Regions from separate parts of the Homo sapiens genome. Here region 2 is linked to region 1. Evidence: promoter capture Hi-C in 16 types of primary human blood cells and fetal thymus (Javierre and others, 2016). All regions are on one chromosome and are shown on one strand. Each heading gives the region's core, a stretch centred on a gene start or on the middle of the fragment in contact. The rest is flanking DNA. Distances are from core to core; before and after follow the strand shown. Region 1 holds the start of NRIP3 (nuclear receptor interacting protein 3). Region 2 overlaps DENND5A (DENN domain containing 5A).

Region 1 (4,410 bases), core at 673-3,172:
CATGAGGCCAAACCCAGTCTCTCCAGGTCTAGGTAGTCCAGCACAGGTTCTGGGAGTAAATGCCAGCTTTACCACTTGATTTCTTTGGTACGACCTTAACTTTTTGCCATCCTTTCACTAGTATTTGAGAACCCTCTGCATATTAGGGCATCAATGCTAAGCAAAAAATGGGTTCAGTCACCTTCCTGGAGGTTCCAATCAGTGGAGGAGACAAATATTAATCCAACAACCAGTACCCCCCTACCCCTACCCCCACAGAAAGTGTCAAATGCCCAAGAGATAGATAGTATATAATTAGAGAGACTTCACTCTCTCTGGAAGGTCAGAGAAGGCTTTCCTAAAGAAATGATAATGGAGCTGAGGTCTGGAAGAAGCATAGGAGTTTCCTGAAGAGGGTAGGAGGGGGCACTGCACACAGAGGGAACAGGACAGTCAAAGGCAGGCCATTTGGCAACAGGTGACTGGAAGGAACTGGAAGAAGGCCCATGAGGCTGAAGTACAGAGTGAATATGCAGGGTCTAGGCAGACCATGCAAGAATGTGGGTTTCTCCTAAGAGCAATAGGAAGCCTTTTGAGGTGCTCTTAGCAGGGAAGTGAGATGATCACACTTATCGTTTGAGAAGATTACTCTGGCAGCACAGTGAACAACGTATTGGAATGGAACCAAGGAGCATTCAGGAGGCCAGACAGAAGGTATCAGGTATTTGCCTGTAAAATGGGGGTGATGAGAATACTATCTTACAAGCTGTTGCCAGGATCCAATGAGATACTGCATTTTAAGTGTCTAGTCTAGTACCTGGCACATAGTAAAGGCTCAGTAAGCGTCGATATTGTTACTTTTATCATTGGTTCTTTGCAGAGTGCACATATTTCTTATCCAGGTCTGCTCCTGCGTGATGGGGTGGAGGGAGTAGTTGTGGTTTCCAGAGTGAAAACGTGATTTGTGTCAAATCACAATGTCGAGACCAGAATCCAGGATGCCTGAAGGCCCGATTAGAATGGCTTAAAAGTATGGATTATTCAGGAAGAAAAACGGGTTCCAATCGCTCCTACTAAGGACGCTGGAGGGATGGTGAACGATCCTTTAGATGGTAAGCCCTAGCACTTATTGAGAAAAACAGGTGCTTCTTTGGTCGGAGAGCAGGTGTAGGGCTCGCAGCCGCGTGCGCTCCCGCGGAGGCGGGGGACCCTCGCCACTCCCCCGCCCCACGCCCACCCGCGGGCTTCCGACTGCACCTGCTCCCCCGGCTCGGAAACGCGGGCCGGGTGCCGGGCTGCAGGCAGAGGGTGCCCGGGGGAGGAGGTCCCGAAAGCCTCCTCCACACGCCTGCACCGGCTGCCCCCTCCCCAGTCACGTGGCCCGGTGGGTGGGGACCGACCTGAAGTTGGAGAAATCCGGAGCGCTCCCAACCTCGGAGGGAGTCGCCAGTCCTCCGGGCCCGGGCGGTGGACCCTGGAGCCCCGGCTGGCGGCGTGGAGGTGCGTTTCTGAGAAGCCGAGCAGCGGCGCGGGCGGCGGGACTCGAGGCATGGCCCGGCTGTCGGTGATCCCCGGGTCGGCCACGGCGTGGACAGGTGAGCAGGTACCCGCGGCCAGCGGCAGAGATGGCCGGGGCTGCCAGGGCATCGGGCCCCAGAGCCCACGCCAGTCCAGGGGATGCGGGGCCCCCACGCAGGAGGGGGCGGTTGGGTGAAAAGGCCGCGGTGGATTCTCGGACTGCCGGGTCAGTCCCCACCAGCGCCGCCGCCTCCTCGCCGGCTTTGCCACCGGGTGAGCAGGGGACGCGGGACGCGGGACGCGGGACGCGAGGGAGCCGCGCGGGGCGTGGACTCTGTGCCGGCCCCGCCCCCCGCGCGCGCACTGGCTGCTCCCCGCGACGTCACGCTCGGCTATAAAAGGCGCGGCTCGGGGCCCTTGCGGCGCTGGAGGAGCTCGAGGCTGAGGCTGCCGGGGGGCTGTGGGCTACCGGGCCGCCGGCGCCTCAGCGATGTTTTACTCAGGGCTCCTCACTGAGGGCGGCCGCAAGGAGACCGACATGCGGGAGGCGGCGTCACTGCGACAGCAGCGCCGGATGAAGCAGGCGGTGCAGTTCATCCACAAGGACTCCGCCGACCTGCTGCCCCTGGACGGCCTCAAGAAGCTGGGCTCGTCCAAGGACATGGTGAGCCCCCGCCGCCGTTCTCGCCCCGGCCCCGGCGGCTTCGCGCCCGCCGTTTTCCGAGGCCCGGCCGTTGCGGCTTTCACTGAGTCACGGCCCGGCCCGCCGCTGCCCTTGGCTCGCGGTCGCTGCGTCGCGGATTCCTCCCCTTCCAGTACCCCTGCTGCGGTTTCGGTGGGGATTCCGTCGTAGCTTTTCTAGCTTGCGCTCCCCTCGGCTGTGCCTCCTCCCTGGATGTCTCTTCTCCAGTAGAAAGAAGAGGTCCTGCCCTGCCCTCTTGCCCTCGGGTCTTCTTTCTTTTTCCTTATTCTTAATACCGAATTTTGTTCACGGGGCTTGTGCCTCCTATGCTGTGTGGCTGTTCCTATGACCCAGACAGAGGTGATTCCTAATGGCTTTCCGTGAGGGGGAAAGAAGTGGAAAGAGGGTTTTTTGACAGTTGCCAGATCCAGAGGACTTCTGTTGAATCCATTGTCCCCCTATGCAAAACCCACTTCTCTAGTTTTGGTCCTAACTTTGACCTTCCATCCTGAGTGGGGAGAGAGAAAAGGGGCCAAATGTGAAGGTTTCCTGAACCCCCAACATCTCTTCATCATTCTCCTCTTCCAGCCCCGCCCCCAAGGAGTGGGTAGAGGGAGGAAGCCAGGCTGCTGCATCTCACCGACCAGCTAATGTGTGCATCTGGAGCTGGGGTGGGTGCAGTCTTTTTTTCTAGCACAGTTGTTCCTGGCATTAAGTAGAAGCACCTCAGGACAGGGGGCCTGGGGTCAAAGATGGTACTGTCCTCTTTCTATAGAATGGGATGGATGGCTAAGGGTTACCAATATAAAGAACTGTATTTGTCATCCCTCAGCCACTGTAGTGGTCCTGGGCCAAGTTTATGTTTAACTTTGTAGTTTTATCTGGAGTTTTCTTGTAGTTTGATTGTTTTCTTGAATTTCACAATCGCTTTATTCATTTGGGTGGTAATATGTGAAACACTAATTAAATGTCTTTTAACAAATGAAATAGGTGCTCTGCATAATTTTTCTAGTATTTTTTATTTTAAGCTTTTGAAATATTTAATTTTGGATGTGGTTGTCGGCCCTAGTTCACTGAAATTGCCATTTCTGGCCCCAGGAGGGCAGAGCTTCTGCATCCATTTCCTTTTTTTTTTTTTTTTTTTTTTAATTTAACAGCTCTAATGATACACAGGTACATTATATTATACACAGTATAATATAATATACAAAAATTTTTCTCCTCCCTGCCATTAGTTACTTCTGTGCAGAGTTTGTCTACTTCAGTTATCTTGCTCTGTTTTTTTTACAAGTTGTGTTTTTTTGTTTTGTTTTGCTTTTTGCACAACCCACAGGATAGTTTATCTGATTTATGCTAACCCAGAGTGATAAGTGATTGAAATGTGCTCCTGCAAAAGAGATAACTCTCTTTTCCCTTCTTTCACTTTAAAGCAATCTCGATTCATTTAACAAATCAGGTTCGAGAAGTATTCTTTCCTTCAGGCCAAATAATCCTATCCTAGTTCCTAGAATGCTCAGCAATCAATAAAGAAGGAAGTATTATATTAAGAGAAGAATTAAAATACAGAGTTTTTAAATGCTGGATTTGGTTGTCCCTCGTTGTCGAGGAGTTTCCTAGCCCTGAGAGCTACCTGAACTTCCTTCTGCCTAGGATTTCTTATACTACTTCATGCTGTGTAAGAATTCCATCCGCTTTTCTGACTCTAGTCTGTCTCAGTTGAGTCACAAAGGGCTGATAGCATACAGCACAGGCAGCAGGCTGCAAAGAGGAAGGAGCCTCAAGAAGCAGGATATTGCCTTGAGTATGACACATACACATGACAGTTGACTGTAAGGCTCTGAATCATGGTTCACGCTTTCTGTGCCCCACCGTCATGGAGTTGATTTCCCTCTCTCACTGTTTTCACACCTATAATGTACAAGTGATTGCACAGAACAGCCAGGTTACAGAAACCAAGGCAGACCGAGGTAGGGCTAGGAGAGCCGCAAGCGCTGGGGTGAGGCAGCATGCTTAAACTCTCTTGGAACTGTTGTTGCAGCCTTAGTACAATCTTAGAAGTGACCTTAGAAGTACATTATTATTCTTTTACTTTATAAATACATGTGGGATAGACCAGTGTTGACTCAATTTTCTCTCACTGCAAGGGAAATTTGGAGGATGTTAAAATTAATTGAATAGTTCTTACTTGGAGTAGTTTATAGTATAATCTCGATAGAAGGAGTCCAAGAAAA
Region 2 (4,410 bases), core at 574-3,073, 140 kb before region 1:
TAAGATTATACTCTGTTTTTACTGTACCTTTTATAGGTTGAGATGTTTAGGTACCCAAATACTTACCATTGTGTTTTAGTTGCCTACGGTATTCAGCACAGTATTCCTTCATTTTTATTCTTCAGGCTGCTGTGGCAGGAAGCTCCAGGAGAAGTGTAGAAGAGCAGGCCTGGGGGCTGGTGACAGGGCTGTACCGATTTGTAGCTTAGGAGCAACAGGCTAGACATATAGTAGGCTCTACCATCTAGGTTTGTATGAGAACCCTATAAAGTTCGCATGGTGACGAAACTGTCTAATGACACATTTCTCAGACTGTATCCCTGTCATTAAGCAACACGTGACTTATGTGTGTGGTGATCTGTCGGGGTAGGGATGACAACGTGTATGTAACTCGGGGCAGAGGGGCCCCATTTTGAAAGGAAAGATCAAAATCACACCACTGGGGAAGTTTGAAGCAGAGTATATCTAGTTATTCCTTCATTAGACATTTAAATGGCCTTATGGAAGTTGGTAGGAAGACAGCTGAATAAAACGTGGCCCCTTACCATTTATTTATTTATTTATTTATTTATTTTGAGATGGAGTTTCGCTCTTGTTGCCCAGGCTGGAGTGCAATGGTGTGATCTCGGCTCACCACAACCTCCGCCTCCTGGGTTCAAGTGAGTCTCCTGCCTCAGCCTCCCGAGTAGCTGGGATTACAGGCATGCGCCATCACGCCTGGCTAGTTTTGTATTGTTAGTAGAGACGGGGTTTCTCCATGTTGGTCAGGCTGGTCTTGAACTCCTGACCTCAGGTGATCTGCCTTCCTTGGCCTCCCAAAGTGCTGAAATTACAGGCGTGAGCCACCATGCCTGGCCAACATTTAGAAGCTTACTTGTCCTAATTAAATACAGAGCATGGAAGAAGGTTTTGAGGGTCCAAAAATGAAGTGTACATTCATACAATATGCTGAAAAGGTAGAGGAGAAAGATCAGAGAAGACTTCAGGGAGGAGTTGGTATTTAAGTGAGCCTTTAATGGAAGGAAATAACAGAACGTGGCAAGGGCAGTAATAGGAAACACAGTTGAAAGGAGGGTAGGGCCCCTGAGCTGGGACAGAGAAAGATTCTTTTCATATTAGTACAAAGTTGTTTCATCAGGGGACTGAAGTAATATTAATCTGATATTATGGGTGGTATGCATTAGAGTGGACATGATTATTAGGGGCTATTCCTGTAGGTCAGGTGAGAGAGCATGAAGCTCAAATAAACTTAAGGCAGTTTATTCAGGCTGCATAAAGGGAGAGAATTGGCATAGTGGTTAAAAACAGACTCCAGAACCGCATTCACTAGGTTCAGATCTCAAGTTATCCATTTACTAGCCATGTGATCTTGGACAAGCTACTTAACTTCCATCTACCCTACTTTCTTCATCTATAAAGTGGGGATAATAATAGTACCTACCTCATATCACAGGGTTATCATGAAGATTAAATCTCTTATGTCAGTGCCAGCACATGCTGAGTGTTATGTGAGGTTAGTGCTTATTATTATTCCTGGTGGTGGTAGCTGTGGGAGGAGAGAAGCTCTGGGAGACACCAGTGGTGGGGCTGACTAGGCAGGGCGAGGGAGGCAGGGGAGGAGGAGGCTTGGAGGCTCATGACAGGGCTGATTTGGGTCAGGTTTGTTTGGTGTCCTGGAGCTGAAAGACCTCTTTGCCAGTCCCTGTTTGGGAAAGGGGGGTGTGGGGGGCTGTCAGCTTCTCCAGCTTCAGACTTAGTTCATGGTTTCCCCCTTGGCCTTGCACTAACGCTCTCTCTTCCTTTTCCTTTGCCCCTCTGACCTGCCTGGACTGCTCCCGCTCTGCCAGAGATCACCTCCTACACCACTGGATTGCCCTGCTGGCTGACTGCCCCATCACTGCACACATGTATGAGGATGTGGCACTGATCAAAGACCATACACTTGTCAATTCCTTGATTCGTGTGCTGCAGACATTGCAGGAGTTCAACATCACGCTGGAGACGTCCCTTGTCAAGGGCATCGACATCTGACCTCCCAGCACCAGCCAGCAGCAGGACTGAGAAAGACTCACCCTGCAGCTCTGACCTTTTTTCCCAAAGGGACTTAAGCGATTGTGCAGGAGTAGGAGACAAAATGTACACTCACTGTAAAAAGAAAACTAGAGGATTTTTGGAATAAATAATCTATTTTAGAGTTTATTTGCTGATTTGCTTTTTACACACTTTCATGTGAAAGAGTGATAGGGAGAGGGAGCGAGGCTGGTGCCGCTTATTTTGAAGCTGGTGCCCTCCCTCGCCGTGGCCACATGCTGGAAGCCTGAGGCCTCCCTGGACTGAGCCTGTGGCACTGCGTGCGGGACAGTTATGTTTCCTTGCCCCGTCGCATTAATGAGGCCCTTCCACATCATTTTTAAACTAATGTTTTTCTATATTAACATTATTATGGATATTTGGCTTTCATAGGCCACACACAGGTGTGCTGCGCGGGAAGCCCCATGCTCCAATCAAAGGGATTTTTAGTAGTGCCTCTAAGCAAGCACCGATGAGTCAGTCCCACGTATTTTCTTTTTTGTCAGTATTGTTTGGGAAGGAGACATGCCGGGATGTGTCATCGTGCCAAATACCACATTTCCTGTTGGCACAGTTTCACAGAAGTAAACATAAGCATGTTTTAACAGGTTTTTCTTTTCTTTTTTCTTTTTTAAAATGTTTTATTTATTTAACCCGCCATTGTGTGTTTTTAAGTATTTTCTTTTTTTAAGGAAAGGAAAAGCTTGTCACAATCTAACTGGCTATGTTATTATTATTAAATTTATGTTTTGCAACTTAGAAACCAGCTACAGTATGGCCCACTTAATAAAACACCTGAAACAAAAACTGCATGGATCACTGATTTTTATGGAGGTTTATGAGCAGTGGGTGGCTGCGGGTGCAGTTGGGTCCATCTGTGAGGATGGTCTTGTGGCATCACCTCTCTTTACCAGCAGGCTCGGGGTTGTGGCCTGCCCAGGATGCCCCTGAGGGCCTGGGGTCTCCTGGGTCCTTCTGCCCGCAGTGCTAGGAGCCTTCCTAGCTGTTATGTGGCTGATTCACATGGATGCAGACAGGGTTCTTTCCCCACTCCACAGAGGAGGAGACTGAGACACAGGAGGGAAAAGACCCGGCCAGGGGTGCAGAGGTTGTCACTTGACTGAGACAGGATGGGCCCTTTCTTGAGAGGGTAAGGGAGACCAGGTGTGGGAAGCTGGGGGTCGGGGGAAGCTCTTGAAAGAAAGGTTTGCTTTCCTGGGGATGGCAGGTGGGAGACCTTTATGAGAGGTCCAGCTTCGTTCATTTTTATTCTTCAGGCTGCTTTGGCAGGAAGCTCCAGAAGAAGTGTAACGTGATCAAGTCAGGCACCTCAGACCAATCAGTGCCCTCTTTTATGCTTTCCTGGTTTGCATGCATTTTCCCTTTGCCTGGAATGCCTCCCCTTCACCCACTTTGTGTTTGTTGTACAGGGTTTACTTTAGCAGTCACCTGCTGTGAAGTGTCCCCAATCTCCCTAGGCAGTTAATCATTCCATCCTTGTGCTCCTTCATTTTCTTAGATGCTGGCATCTCCTCTCTGGATTGTCATTGCCTGCTTTCGTGTCAGGCTCAGCCCTTGCACCGTGAGCTCCCAGAGGGAAAAGGGGGATCTCTTGCCTGTCTCCATCCCCTGGGCCTGGCAGGTGGTAAATGCTTCTGAAGAGATGAGGAGAGGGCCCAGAGAGCTGCAGCGCAGCGTCCTGCCTGCAGAGGGGGTGAGAGGCCACACTGCAGCCGTCTGCCTGGAGCCCACGGACAGAGCTTTAGTTCTCTCGGAGAAGGCCGAGGAAAGGGGAAGGAAGGTAGGCAGTACCTCTGGAGCAGGAAGTGGGATTCTTGGCTGGGCAAGAAGGGCAGCATGGAACTCAGCTGTATGTGTTTATATTGTGGGCCTAGGCCTGAGCTTACCTTAAGGCAGGTGCTGGGACCAACTATTTCCTTGCTCTTTGTAACAGCTGATCCTACTCACTTTCTACTGTGTTTTGTTTTGTAATCTTCTGCAAATCTGTTTTGGAATGATGTGTGATATAAGAGAACAGACCTGTTTAGTAGCTCAAGATTTCAAGGACATTTGAGTCAACTGCGTTCTTCCGTGTAGGGCCCAGCCAGGCCTCTCCAGTGGTCCTGGGTAAATCAGGTGTGTTTGGTTCACTCAGCAAGCAGCCCTGCCTGCCTCAGCTTCTGCACCTGCTCTACTTCAGGGCTTCCCAGGCTGTGATTTCAGGGACTGGTAAATAAACAAGCAAGCAAAGGAACTCAGGGAATTACTATAAAGCAAGCACCCTTATAATCACCACTCAGGTCAAGAATAGAACTTTGCCAGCCCCCCAGGGTCCTCCAT

What was found. Contacts are between HindIII fragments. The CHiCAGO score rates a contact against its expected background, and 5 or more counts as called.
Region 2: a fragment that was not itself captured here is called in contact with the fragment with the promoter of NRIP3 in region 1 in 4 of 17 cell types (M1 macrophages, M0 macrophages, M2 macrophages and 1 more); the score reaches 6.8 in M1 macrophages.

Annotation. Positions count from the first base shown.
Region 1 is chr11:9,001,513-9,005,922 of GRCh38, reverse strand. It overlaps NRIP3 (nuclear receptor interacting protein 3), which reads left to right and starts at 1,922. Exons shown (of 7, transcript NM_020645.3): 1 at 1,922-2,161. The coding sequence starts at 1,988. It overlaps NRIP3-DT (NRIP3 divergent transcript), which reads right to left and starts at 1,835. Exons shown (of 3, transcript NR_183663.1): 1 at 1,380-1,835. RefSeq lists an enhancer at 1,826-2,745. The HindIII fragment of the contact is 8,665 bases long and covers 1-3,209 here.
Region 2 is chr11:9,137,292-9,141,701 of GRCh38, reverse strand. It overlaps DENND5A (DENN domain containing 5A), which reads left to right. Exons shown (of 23, transcript NM_015213.4): 23 at 1,848-2,877. The coding sequence ends at 2,031. Among named protein-coding and RNA genes, the nearest start is that of SCUBE2, 48 kb to the right of the region's middle. RefSeq lists enhancers at 2,386-2,680, 3,494-3,683. The HindIII fragment of the contact is 1,904 bases long and covers 872-2,775 here.